Linked DNA regions of Homo sapiens: region 1 is linked to region 2. The links are contacts of gene promoters, found by promoter capture Hi-C in human tissues and cell types (Jung and others, 2019). All regions are on one chromosome and are shown on one strand. Each heading gives the region's core, a stretch centred on a gene start or on the middle of the fragment in contact. The rest is flanking DNA. Distances are from core to core; before and after follow the strand shown.

Region 1 (6,484 bases), core at 1,442-3,941, 140 kb before region 2:
GGATACCAGTAGCTCCAGAATTACATTCCATCCTCTTAGAGATCCCAGTAAAAAATTAAAACAAAAACAAAACCCGATAAGCTCTTAATGAGAGACTCTGCAAATAAGTCCCAAGGCTGGGTCTGCTGGGGTTGATTTGGGTCACATGCCCATTCCTCCATCTATCACCACAGCAAGGAAGTGAACTACACTGATTATCCCTGTATCTGAGGAATATGGCCAATTTTTCAACACTAGTAAAGAATAAAGTTGAAGCTTCCTTAGAAATGCTCAAGTAGGATCATTTTAAAAGACAAGTCTCTGTATTTTTATTCATAGAACACTACACTGATAAAACAATACACAGAAGCCTACTTCTATGGGTATAATTTCCAACTGCTTGCCAGAATGAAAGATTATTCCCCTTTTAGAATCACAACAATTTTTGATAGAGAATCAAAGCAGAGATATAACATCATTCAGGAAAGAAAATAACCTGTAAAGGTTAAACAACTTGTCAAATAAAGATCATCTATATTTAAAGATTTTATGTGTGGAGAGACTTAGCTGCAGTCCCTTACCTCAGATTTCATCTTAGAAACACACTTAAATATCCTGGACCTCACTAAAAAATAAGCTCAGGCCAGACTCGGTGGCTCACGCATGTAATCCCAGCACTTTGGGAGGCTGAGGCGGGCAGATCACTTGAGGCCAGGAGATTGAGACTAGCCTGGCCAATATGGTGAAACCCTGTCTCTAATACAAATATAAAAATTAGTCAGGCATGGTGGTACATGCCTGTAATCCCAGGTACTCGAGTGGCTGAGGCATGAGAATCACCTGAACCCGGGAGGCAAAGGTTGCAGTGAGCCGAGATCGCCACTGCACTCCAGCCTGACTGACAGAGTGAGACTGTCTCAAGAAAAAAATTAAAATTAAAATTAAAAATAAGCTCAATTTGCAGACCATTTCAGAAAATCAAACAGTATATAATAAAAAAAATTTCAGGACAAGGGAGATTCAGGACAGTGATATAACAGCCATAATTCCGGAGCCTGAGGATATTCCAAAGGATCAATTTAGTATTAAGAAATTAACCACAATTATCTGAAAGATCAGCCAACACTTTAATTACCACCCTCATATAAATATATATACATATAACTTTTTTTTTTTGAGGCAGGGTCTCACCCTGTCACCCAGGCTGGAGTGCAGTGACACAATCATGGCTCATTGTACCCCCAACCTCCCAGGTACAAGTGATCCTCCCGCCTCAGCTTCCCAAGTAGCTGGGACTATTGCATGCCATCACGCCCAGCTAACTTTTGTATTTTTTTTTTTTTTTTTTAGTAGCAATAGGGTCTCACTTTGCTGCCTAGGCTGGTCTTGGACTCCTGGGCTCAAGCGATCCTCCTGCCTTGGCCTCCCAAAGTGCTGGGCTTACAGTTGTGAGCCACTGCACTTGGCCCACCCTCATATATTGATGACAAAAACTGAAACCACATTTCTTTGATCAGTGGTTTCTGGCATACTGTAAAGTACATATTGCTAGATTTTAAAAATCTAAAATATATAGATTTCACGTATAGCCAACTCTAAAAATCTACTTATGTCTATAATCATCCTTGCCTTCTTCTGCAGTGCAAATACAGATGAAGTGATTCACTTCTTTTGCAAAAGACCAATCCCAGCACATGCTCTGAATACTACTTCTTGCTCTGAGGGTTTTGCTCCTTGGATAATCCTTCTCTCCCCATCTCATTGCCTCTCCCTCTCTATGGTAAATCTTTCTCATATCAGCACACAAATGTTCTCTATTACCTCCCATCTTTGAAAACATTCCCATATTAATATTAGACACAGTGATTCAAGAAAAAAGGCATTACCAGGGAAAAAGAGGAACACTTTATGTTGATAAGCGGCACTGTATTAGTAAAATATAATGATTACAAATGTATATGCACCTAATAAAAAAGCTTTAAACCACATAAAGCAAAAACTGACAAAAGTAAAAGGAGACATAAACAAATCCCCAATCATAGATATTTTCACAATTAAATAAAGTAAGACAAAAACCAGTAAGGAAACAGAAGCCCTGAACAATGCAAGCAGCTGTAACCTAAGTGGCCTTTACAGAGCATAACACTGAACAACTGCAGATATAAGTTCAAGTGCACAGAGAATGTTTACCACAATAGACCATATGCTGAGCCACATGAATTTCTGTAGGTTTCAAGAGCTTGATATCTTGCAGAGTATGCCCTCTGACTATAACACAATTAAATTAGAAATGAATAGTAGTATGATATTCTAGAAAAGTTCCTAAGTATTTGAATATTCACCTATACACCTGAAAATAAAGAATGGGTCAAAGAAAAAAATACAAAGAAAACTTTAACTTATTTTGAACTGAATAATAAAAATACAACACGCTAACATGTGTGCAATGCATGTAAAGTAGCGTCTAGAGAAAATGATATAGCTCTAAGTGCTTCTAATGGGAAAAAGGGACTAAATCAATTAGCCAAGCTTCACCTTCAAAAGTCTGGAGGTGGGAAGTATAAGAAGCTAATTTAACCCAAAATAAGTGGAAGGAAAGATACAGTAAATTTAAGAGAGAAAATCAATGAAATAGAAAATCAGACCAAAAACTAGAGAAAATGAATGCAACCAAAAGTTATTACATGAAAAGATTGATAAAATCTTCCACTAGAATGATAAAGAAAAAAGAAAAATAAGGCACATGATTACCAATAATATTTCAGAAATTAAAGAGGGGCAATCATTAAAAATCTTACAGACATTAAAAGGACAGTAAAAGAATATTATGAACAGCTTTATGCCGATACAGTCTACAAATTAGATGAAATGAATAAGTCCCCTAAATGAAACAAATTACCAAGACAGATACAAGAAGAAACAGAAAAATTTAAAAGCCTTTAGTATCTGTTATCAATAATAGGAATGTCAAAAAAAATGTTGGGTCATGTTTAAAACCATCACACTCTATATCAATAAAGAAATTTAAACTGTAATTAAAAACCCACTAGAAAAGAATACTCTAAGCCCATATGCCTTCACTAGTAAATTTTATCAAATACTTAAAAAGGAAATACCAACCCTATCATACTCTCTCAAAATATAGGGGAAGAGGAAACATTTCCCAACTCACTTTATGAGACCAGTATTATTACCCTGATACCAAAACCAAAGACATAATAATACCAGTAAGTCACAAGTTAATAATCCTGATGAGGACACATGTTAGATCTGTCAACAAATTATTAGCAAACCAAACCAATGAATAAAAACCTAATTTAACATTTTAAAATCAATCCCTGTAATTCAACATGTTAACAGGAAAAAGAAAAGAATCTGTATAGTCATCTCAATACACACATTTGACATAATTCAACTTCTATTCATGATGAAAATTCCACTAAGACTATAAGGATATTTCCTCAGCTTGATAAAGGGCATCTATGAAAAACCTAAAACTAACATAATTAATGAGAAAGATAGAGGGCTTTCCTCATAAGATCAAGAACAAGGCAAGAATATCTCACTACTTGTGTTCAACATCATAGTGAAGGTTTCTTGTAAAGCATGAAAAAACTAAAAGGCATATAGATTAGAACAGAAAACATAAAACAGCCTTTATTCACAGACAATATATATGCAGAAAATCCTACAGAATCTTTAAAGATGTACTAAAACTAATAACTAGGTTGCAGGACATTATAAAAAATATATACATATACATATACAAAAGTCAATTTCTATATACTAGATATGAACAACTGGAAAATAAAATTAAGGGGATAATTTCAATTATCATAGTATCAAAAACATGAATGATTTAGTAAGAAATCTAACAAAATATATGCAAAACTTATACACTGAAAACTACAAAATCCTGTCAAAAGAAATTAAAGAAGACCTAAATAAATGGAGATAAATATCTGTTCATGGATTAGACAACTCCAATCTATGCCATTTGGACCCCAAATTGATCTACAGACTCAATGCAATCCAAATAGGCTTTATGCATAGAAGTAGATAAAGTCAATTCTAAATTTCCCATCAATATACACAGGAGCCCAAAGAGTCAAAAGAATTTTGAAAAACAAATACCACTAAATATTAAGGCTTACTACAAAGCTACAGTAATTAAGGAAGGATAGATAAATAGATTAATGGAACAGAATATAGAGCCTAGAAATAGAATCACATTTATATAGTAAATTGATTTTCAATAAAGATGTCATGGTAATTCAATAGGGAAAGGAGTCTTTTAAACAAATGTGCTAAAATAAGTAGATATCCACAGGAGAAAGATGAAATTCAGCCCTCACTTCACACTATATATAAAAATTAACTTGAAATGGACAATAGACCAAAAAGTGAAAATTCAAACTACTATAAACCTTTTATAAGGAAAAAAAAGAGACTTGCAGAAACAGAGTAGAATGGTGGTTGCCAGGAGCTGGGGGGAAAAAGAAATGGGAGCTGCTGGTCAATGAATATAAAGTTCCAGTTGTATAAAATGAATTAAGTTCTAGAGATCTGCTGCACAGCATCATGCATACTTAAAAATACCATGCACTTAAAACTTTGGTAAGAGGGTAGATCAAGTTAAGTGTTCTTACCACAATTTTAAGAAGAAAGAAGAAAAGGAGAAATCTTTGCAACTTTGGGATAGACAGAGATATATTAGATAGGAAACCAAAGGCATAACTCATTAAAAATTTTGATAAATTGGATTTCACCATAATTTAAAACTTCTGCTCTGCAAAAGGTACCCTTCAGAAATTTGTGTAGCAAAGGACTTTTGTCCACATTATATAAAGAACTCTTACAATTCATTAAAATGAAAGCCAAAAATGTATAAAAGACTTACACAGACACATCAGAGAATAACATATATATTAATGGGTGTAAATACAAAAAATACTCAGCATCATTTTGTCATCAGGGAAATTCAAAGCAAAATATAACAAACAATAACAAAGGAGATAACACTATACATCCACCAGAATGGCTATAATTATAATATGTGGTGGTGAGGATGTAAAGAAACTGAATCTCTCATATATTTTTCATGGGAGTGAGAAATGGTACAGCTACTTTGGAAAACCACTTCATAATTTCGTATAAAGATAAACATATGCTTACCATATGATCCAGCAATTCCACATCCAGGTACCTACTTAACCAAGAGAAATAAAAGCATATGTTCTTACGATGATGTGTACAGCAGTGTTCACAGGGGCATTGTTCTTAATCATCAAAAACTGAAAACAACCAAAATGTCCTTCAACTGGTGAAGAGGTAAACAAACTCTGAAACATCTATACAATGGAATACTAGTCGGCAACAGTGAACAACATGGATAAATTTCACATGCGCACGCTAATAGAAAAAAGCCAGACTCAAAATTATTCCATTTATATGACATTCTGGAAAAGGTAAATCCACAGGGATGCAAAACAGATCAGTGGTTGGCAGGGGCTGTGGGATGAGGGGAAATGTTGACTTAAAAGGGATACAAAGGAATTTTCGGGAGTAAAGAATGCTTTTCTATCTTCATTATGGTGATGGTTACACAAGATTTTAATTCATAGAACCGGACACTTAAAGGGAGTGATTTTTTACTATATGTAAATTATACTTCAATAAACCTGAGCAAAAAGACTATATGAACCAAATAAATTTTTTTTTATACCAAAGCCAAGCAAACTCAGCATCTATACACAGGAAAAGTGCAAAACTCCATAAAAACACCCAAACTACAAGCCAAGGTTATGATCTAAAGGTATCAAATATTTTTTATTCTGATAAAACTTAAAATCCAAGAAATATTTATCAAAATTTTGTAATGTGCAGAGCATCTATTAGGCATCAAATTACTCCCACTTACAGTGAGGTGACGCTTCAGTTAATAAGGCATTTTCGAAAACCACATCGCTAGTATTGGCCTATCAACACCTAGAAATAAGTACACCCACAAAGCACATCCCTAACTATCTTCAAGCAGAAGCAATCATCAATCAAATGGTATAAGCTTTAGGAAATGAAGGCAGTGTCTTGCTTCCTGTGAGATGACGAAGGAAAGACTTAATTAACATGGCAGAATGCAGCATAGGTCATGAGAATGGATAGTGATGAAAAAAGATGTCATAGTTTAAAAAGTTCAAGAAGTAGGCATGTTTGCAGAACAGAAAGTAGACAGGTGTCACTGCAGCTGGAAGCTTCTGAAGAGGCACAAAAAAAACAAAAAATCCACTAAGGAAGAATGAGCTCATCCTTGCCAAGGAGGGCCTTAAATGTCATTCGTATGTACCTTAAAACGCACAGGCACATACACACATGCACACATACACAGTTTCTTTTTTTCTCAACTTGATGCTTAAAAGAAAGATAGCCATCAAGAAAGAAATCAAAATAGAAATGTTATAACATTCTAAACACAAGTAGAGTTGAGGTTCTTGTATACTAAGTGCCA
Region 2 (6,601 bases), core at 1-2,500:
TTTGTTCTCTCTCCAGCCTGCGTCCTGCTCAGCAGCAGCCAGTCATAGATTCCTGCTCTTCAATCAATTCGGGGGATCTGGGCTCTCCGCCTCTGCGGCCCACACCGCAGTGCCCAAATGCCCACCACACTCCTTAGTGTCCAAGGGACCGAGAAGCCCAGTGCAAGGAGAGCAAGTTCGTGAGTGGTAGGGATATGTGGCCATGTCCCGAGAGCCACGGGGACCTCTCTACAGTCAAAAACGGGAAGTTGACCACCTGTCACGGCTGGCAGAGGCTGGACTGGGCCGCTGGCTAGGAAGCTCTCTCCCCAGCCTGTGAAAGTGCACAGGATACTGGAGCGGGCTTCCCCCAGCAGCGGATCCTCGCGTGGGTGCAGGCAAGGTCAGGTGCGCATTGTTCCCACAGAGGGAGTTCACCAGCGGAGTCAGACCCCGGGACGTTCTGTGTGGCCGAAACCGGCTGAACGTGAACCTAGAGCAGTAACTGGCGAGCATACGATGCCGCGGAGCACACGCATGAGCATGAATATCTTGGTTCCGCGCTCGCAGTCCCCTCGTTCCCGCCTTGCGCTCAAACACTCAGGCTGGCGACACCCCTGCACTCTCCAGTGTGGAAGACTTGCGCTCCCCCCTGCGGCCCAGGCGAACCCCGCTCTCCCTGCGCCTCCCACCCCAGTCCTCCAACCCCATCCTCTGCCTCCCCAACCTAACGACGTCGCTGTGGTCTGCGCTCCCGCCCTGACCGGCAGGTGAAAGGCGGAGCTGCAATGCCATCCCGCGGCTGTCAGGTGCCCAGGGAAGAGTTTGGCGACAAGCAGGGCTGCGTGGATTTCGGGCAGCGCCAACTTTATGCCTGTATGACTTTGGGCAAGTGACTTCATTCCTCTGAGCCTGTCTTTGCACCTGCAAAGAGGGCTACGTATCCCTTCCAGGTAGAGTGAGTGCGATGAGGACCTAGTGGGTGCACAGGGCACCAGGCGCACCGATGCTCGGCAGGCCAGGGCGCGCGCTCGCTGCAAATGGAGTTCCCCTGTGCGCTCAGCTCTGCAGCTCCAAGTGCAGCCTGGAGCGAGCCCGCCGAGCCGCGGGATCCCTCCGGGGTGGGATAAGGGAGGGGAGCCCCCGCGGCCCCCTCCCGGCCCTCGGCGCGGCCGCGTGCGTGGTGTCATTGGCCCGGGCGGCCCGGTGGGCGGGAGGATGACATCAGCGGCAGGTTGGATTATAAAGGCGCGAGCAGAGTCACGGGCTCAGAGCGCACCCAGCCGGCGCCGCGCAGCACTGGGACCCTGCTCGCCCTGCAGCCCAGCCAGCCTGCTCCGCATCCCCCTGCTGGTCTGCCCGCCGACCTGCGCGCCCTCGCTGCCGCCCGTGTGCGCCCCTCGACCCCAGCGGCACCATGCATCTCTCCCAGCTGCTGGCCTGCGCCCTGCTGCTCACGCTGCTCTCCCTCCGGCCCTCCGAAGCCAAGCCCGGGGCGCCGCCGAAGGTGGGTGCTGTCGTGGGGACGCCGAGCCTGGGAGAGGCGTGGGAGGCTGGGGGCTTGGAGAATGCGGCGCGCAGGACCCAGGAGAGAGGGAAGGCAGGCGGCTGTCTCCTCCGAGATGCGCGTGGGCGAGAGCCGGGGAGCCCTCGAAGCGCGGATTCGGGGGTCCACTTCTCCAGCCTCCGGAGAACATCGGCCCATGCGCAGCCCCCTACCCCAGTGTGGCCTGCCCGGCGAGCAGCAAAGGGAGGGCAGGGGGCTTCCGGAGGGAGCGGCGAAGGCGGCCGCGTGGCAGGTGGATGCGGGGCCAAGCTGGCCGGCATCGGTGGGGGCGGCTCTGGGCTTGGGAGGGACACCCCGCGCCGGCGGGCGCGTGGGGCTGGAGCATCAGAGTCCCCCGTGCTGCAGCCGCGTGTCCCTTCACCTGCCCGCTCTTTCCTCGGACAGGTCCCGCGAACCCCGCCGGCAGAGGAGCTGGCCGAGCCGCAGGCTGCGGGCGGCGGTCAGAAGAAGGGCGACAAGGCTCCCGGGGGCGGGGGCGCCAATCTCAAGGGCGACCGGTCGCGACTGCTCCGGGACCTGCGCGTGGACACCAAGTCGCGGGCAGCGTGGGCTCGCCTTCTGCAAGAGCACCCCAACGCGCGCAAATACAAAGGAGCCAACAAGAAGGGCTTGTCCAAGGGCTGCTTCGGCCTCAAGCTGGACCGAATCGGCTCCATGAGCGGCCTGGGATGTTAGTGCGGCGCCCCCTGGCGGCGGTGAGTACGGCCCACCCGACGCCCAGCCCCAGCCCGGCCCGGGACCGCCCGCCGCCCAGCCGGCCTTCGGAGGCGCGCGAGCCGCCTTTGCTCAAGTTGTGCTAGGCGTTTGCCAGCCGCCCCCTTTATTATCCCACTTTACAGACAAAGAAAGCGAAGGATAACGTGATCGGGGAACTTTGGCAAGGTCAGAAACGGCTCAGCCTGGTTGAACCCACCTGGCTTCTTCTGGAGAAGCAGAAACAGGCTTGGTGGTGTCTCACCCACCCCTGAACCGTAGCTGAACTAGCAGCACTGGCCCCTATTGGCCAGCTGGTGGGGGGATTGAGAGGAGATCATGGGTTTGTGGGAGCAGAGAAGGAAGGTTACACCCACAAGTCCAGGGGACATCGATCATCTGCTGGCCACCATGCCCCCTGTAGTGAGAGTAGCCCTCTGCTGGCACTGTCAGAGCGCCCTTCTGCCTGGGACACTCCGATTCCTGTCCCTTCTCTAAACCCAGGCAGTGGGCAAACTGGTCTGTCCAGGGTCCTGAGGCAGCTGCAGCCTGGTGGCTTCGGGGGTGAATCTCAGTGCTTGTGGCACTATTTCAGGGAATAGGAAAGACACTAAAGTAAATATTATTTGCCCCAGCCTCGAACTCAACACGTCCCAGAGTCCCTCACCAACCCTGTCCCGACCCAACCGGTGCTCTGGGCTCCGTTTCTGGTGTGGGGTCTCACCCCGCACTAGGGCTGGAAACCTCTGCCCTACCGCCACCCCCTGCCGGGTGCCGCGTGGTGGTAATTTACTGCTGCAGAGAGCCTCACCTCTCCTCTTTCCCTCCTCTCTATTCCTGCCGCCTGCCCGTGCCCACTGAATAACATCCCAGCCTCTGACATTGACAGTCATGTGCGTTAGGATCAGGCTTACCTGGCTTTCTCGCTTTCTTGCCTCCAGCTCAGCAGCTGCCACTGCCTGTCCCACACCTTGACTGTCCCATCCCAGGCTACGGGCAAGCTGCTGTCTCCTCCCCAGAAACCCTTGTCAGTGTCGGATCTTCTCCCGGAGGGAAACAAGAGCGCCTGTCCAGCACACTGTCTCTTTTTTACAGTACAGAACACTTTTTCACAGTTTGTGAACCCATTCACCTCTCCATATTGAACAGCTTAAGGGCGAAGTGCTGGCCTAAGGCACTCTAGGACCCACTGCACCCCGAACAGACTCGTGGAAATATTTGTCAATGACCAGAGAAACCAGCACACCCTGGCCCATGGCCACTCCCACCTGCCCGAGGTTTTAACCAGTGCCCTTCCTCTCTTTGCAGCCAGACCTCACTCGGCTGTGGGCCTCTCCCCAGTTCTGCAAAGGCTGTAGTTGTCTGTGATCTTGACTCTCCCCTGCACAGGGAGAAGAATGATTCTGACACTTGGGGACCAGCCTTCAGTAGCTACCCTTGGAATGCCTTTGCTCTCTTCTCTCCTGTCTAAACAACAAAGAGACGGAGTCTGAGGCCTCAAATTTTCAGTTTGATTTAAGCATCAAGTTCAAACTTTAGAACCTGAGCAAATGTTAGTGACTCTCCATTGGTTCGTACCTGGAATGCGCATCCCCACAGGGGCTTTGTTCTTGGGCCTGGATGTCTGTGGTCACCAAGTGATGGCCAAACGGGTGGTGAAAGATGCTGTGTAGGAGGAATCCACATTGTTAAGAATTCTCGACCCCTTTGATCAGGGGGGTTCAATAATCTCCTACCAGCTCTCTTAGCATAGATGAACACTTACCGTCGACACCTTCAACACCGGCTTACGCCCAACACCAGCTGTTTTATTATTATTTGGGAAGGGCGGTGTGGATTTATTATTTGGGATTTTTTAAATGAAAAATAAAAACCCCACCCTCACTGCCCCCCATTCCCAGTGAGAGAGCAGAACATCATTCCTGCAGGCTCCTGGTGACGATGCCCAGGATATATCACTGGGCGTAAAGAGAAAGACAGCTTAGATTTTTCACATTAATGAAAACTCTTTGAGGTTGTGGCTGTTTCTCCACGCAGTGGGTGACCTGGGCTCTAAGCCACCGTAATGATGGTGGTTGATGGTTCTAGGTATTCATTGTAAAATGCTAATGACAGAGACTGGGTGTAGGTGAAACCTGAATGAACACTTTGCCCCTGGGGCCCAGCAACATCACAGACAGCTGTCATCTGTGTAAACTCACGGCAGAGCCAGAGAAGGGAGTGGGGGAGGGTTCATCAAGCCATTCTGGCCCAGGTCCCCTCTGTGCATGCTGTCCTTTGGGAGGGCACTGAACGCCCCTGAAGGCCACCTTCCTTGGGCCCCGGGGCACCCACACACCCATTAGCAGAGAGTTTACCCTAACAACACTCAGAGCCCATGACTGTGCATTTCCCCAAGGCTGGTGTGAGACACCATTTCCTCTGCTCCTGAAGGGGACCTGGACCCAGACCCTTTCCTCTGCACAACCAGCTAGGGAAGGAGGTGCTGTTTACTGGGTGGCAGCTGTGACCCAGACACTGCCGATGCCCGATCCGAGGCTCCCTGTTGAATCTGAAAGCCAGCCCTAGGAGGTGGCTATTATCCAATTTTATGGGTGAACACTCCCAGCTATCCAGGGTCATCCAGGGACCCAACGTCAGAGTAGAGATTTGAGCCCAGGATTCCTGATCCTGAGATGTCTCTCTTCTCCTTCCATCCATGGTCACTCAGACACACGAACCCCGGGCGAGCACTGACTGAGGGTTTGCGTTGTAGCAAAAAAGGGATGGGAGATTTTCCATTCTCTTTCTCTCACTGCGCTTCCCTGAGTGCCAAGGGCAAGGCCTGTGGTTAGACTGGGGGAAGAAGGAGTGTTGCAGACACGCTGGTTCCACTTGTACTGGGGCAGCAAAGCAGAAGGGGCCTGGGGAGTGCGCAATGGGGGGCTCCTCCCCTCTGCAGGAAGGCCTGGTTGGGGGGGTGGCGGAGGTAGGGGAACATCCCTCAAGCTGCTGGGAGAAGGGGAGGAAAGGTTCTAGAACCACCCTGCCTGCTAGGATTTCTCAGCTAAGGGGCCAGAACTGAGCGTCCCGTGTTCACTCTGTGTTTCAGGATCGGGAACTGGCTCCGTTGTGCTGAGGTCATCTTTGGTCATCAGCCTCCAGCATCTGGAAACACCTCCAACGCAATGTGGCTTTTACATTTCTTTCTTTCTTTCTTTTTTTTTCCTGGTACTGGGAATACACAACACCAGCTGTTTTATTATTATTTGGGGAGGGGGTTGTGATTTTATTATTTGTTTTTTTAAAATGAAAAATAAAAAGTTATATATTATATATATATTATATACATGAAACACACACACCTACACCGACTTGATGACAAGGGACAGTTTTTAAGAGACTGACAGAACCAGCTGTAAAACATTGCTGTTTGTAAATTCATGTCATGCATAAATGTATTTATGTTGTAAAGCTATTTATATTGTTTATAAAGAGATATTTATAAAAATTTTATTTATGTAACTAAATGAAAGAAGTCAATCATTGTAATGTTTTTGTCCTAACTAGTTAAAAAAAATGTAAAAAAAAAAAAGTCATTCCATGAATATCTTGAAAACTGTCTTTATTTACTTGTTGCCTGTATTTTTTAGGACTTAGGCTGAGAAAGAGGGAGAATGTGAAGAAAAGGCATTGCCTCCAAATAGGTCTGACAGGCAGATTCCCAATTCTGGATTTATCTGTGTCAGAATCCCCTGGAGACCTTGCTAAAAATACAGATTCCTGCCTTCTCCGAATCTGATAGGACTGGCTGTGTAAGTTTCGTCCCAAGTGATTCTGACCAGCTCAGCCAGGTCAGGAAGCTCTGCTCAAACACCTGACCGCTAGGAAGTCAGATGTTATGAATTAAATTAATGACGGCCGGGCGTGGTGGCAGGTGCCTGTAATCCCAGCACTTTGGGAGGCCAAGGTGGGTGGGTCATCTGAGGTCAGGAGTTCAAGACCAGCCTGGCCAATATGGTGAAACCCCATCTCTACTAAAATTACCAAAATTGCCGGGCGTGGTGGCAGGTGCCTGTAATCCCAGCTACTCGGGAGGCTGAGGCAGGAGAATTGCTTGAACCCAGGAGGCAGAGGTTGCAGTGAGCCGAGATCACAGACGGCACCCCAATCCTGGGCAACAGAGCAAGACTCCATCTCAAAAAAAAAATTAATTTTGAATTCAGCTGACTTAGGGTCCTGTAAATTCTACTCCATCTTCTGCTGTTAGTGGAAGAAATAGCTGCTAACTCCCTCTCTGTTTGGGGGAGATTTAGAAGGCTTCTGCATATCTTGCAGAATTGGCCAGGTCACCTTACGAATCTCAGCAACTCTGTTTTCTAG

What was found. The method cuts DNA at HindIII sites, captures the fragments that hold promoters and counts their contacts. A contact is called where the count stands out against the background at its distance.
Region 1: a fragment that was not itself captured here is called in contact with the fragment with the promoter of NPPC in region 2 in 2 of the 25 tissues and cell types used here (H1 embryonic stem cells and dorsolateral prefrontal cortex).

The regions. Positions count from the first base shown.
Region 1 is chr2:232,063,253-232,069,736 of GRCh38, reverse strand. All of the region lies in intron 5 of DIS3L2 (DIS3 like 3'-5' exoribonuclease 2), which reads right to left. Among named protein-coding and RNA genes, the nearest start is that of DIS3L2, 100 kb to the right of the region's middle. The HindIII fragment of the contact is 3,171 bases long and covers 1,106-4,276 here.
Region 2 is chr2:231,921,045-231,927,645 of GRCh38, reverse strand. NPPC (natriuretic peptide C) reads left to right here and starts at 1,250. Exons shown (of 3, transcript NM_024409.4): 1 at 1,250-1,486; 2 at 1,931-2,241; 3 at 5,331-5,837. The coding sequence starts at 1,397. The coding sequence ends at 2,221. RefSeq lists an enhancer at 1-560 and silencers at 962-1,181, 2,137-2,186, 2,267-2,356. The HindIII fragment of the contact is 16,124 bases long and covers 1-6,601 here.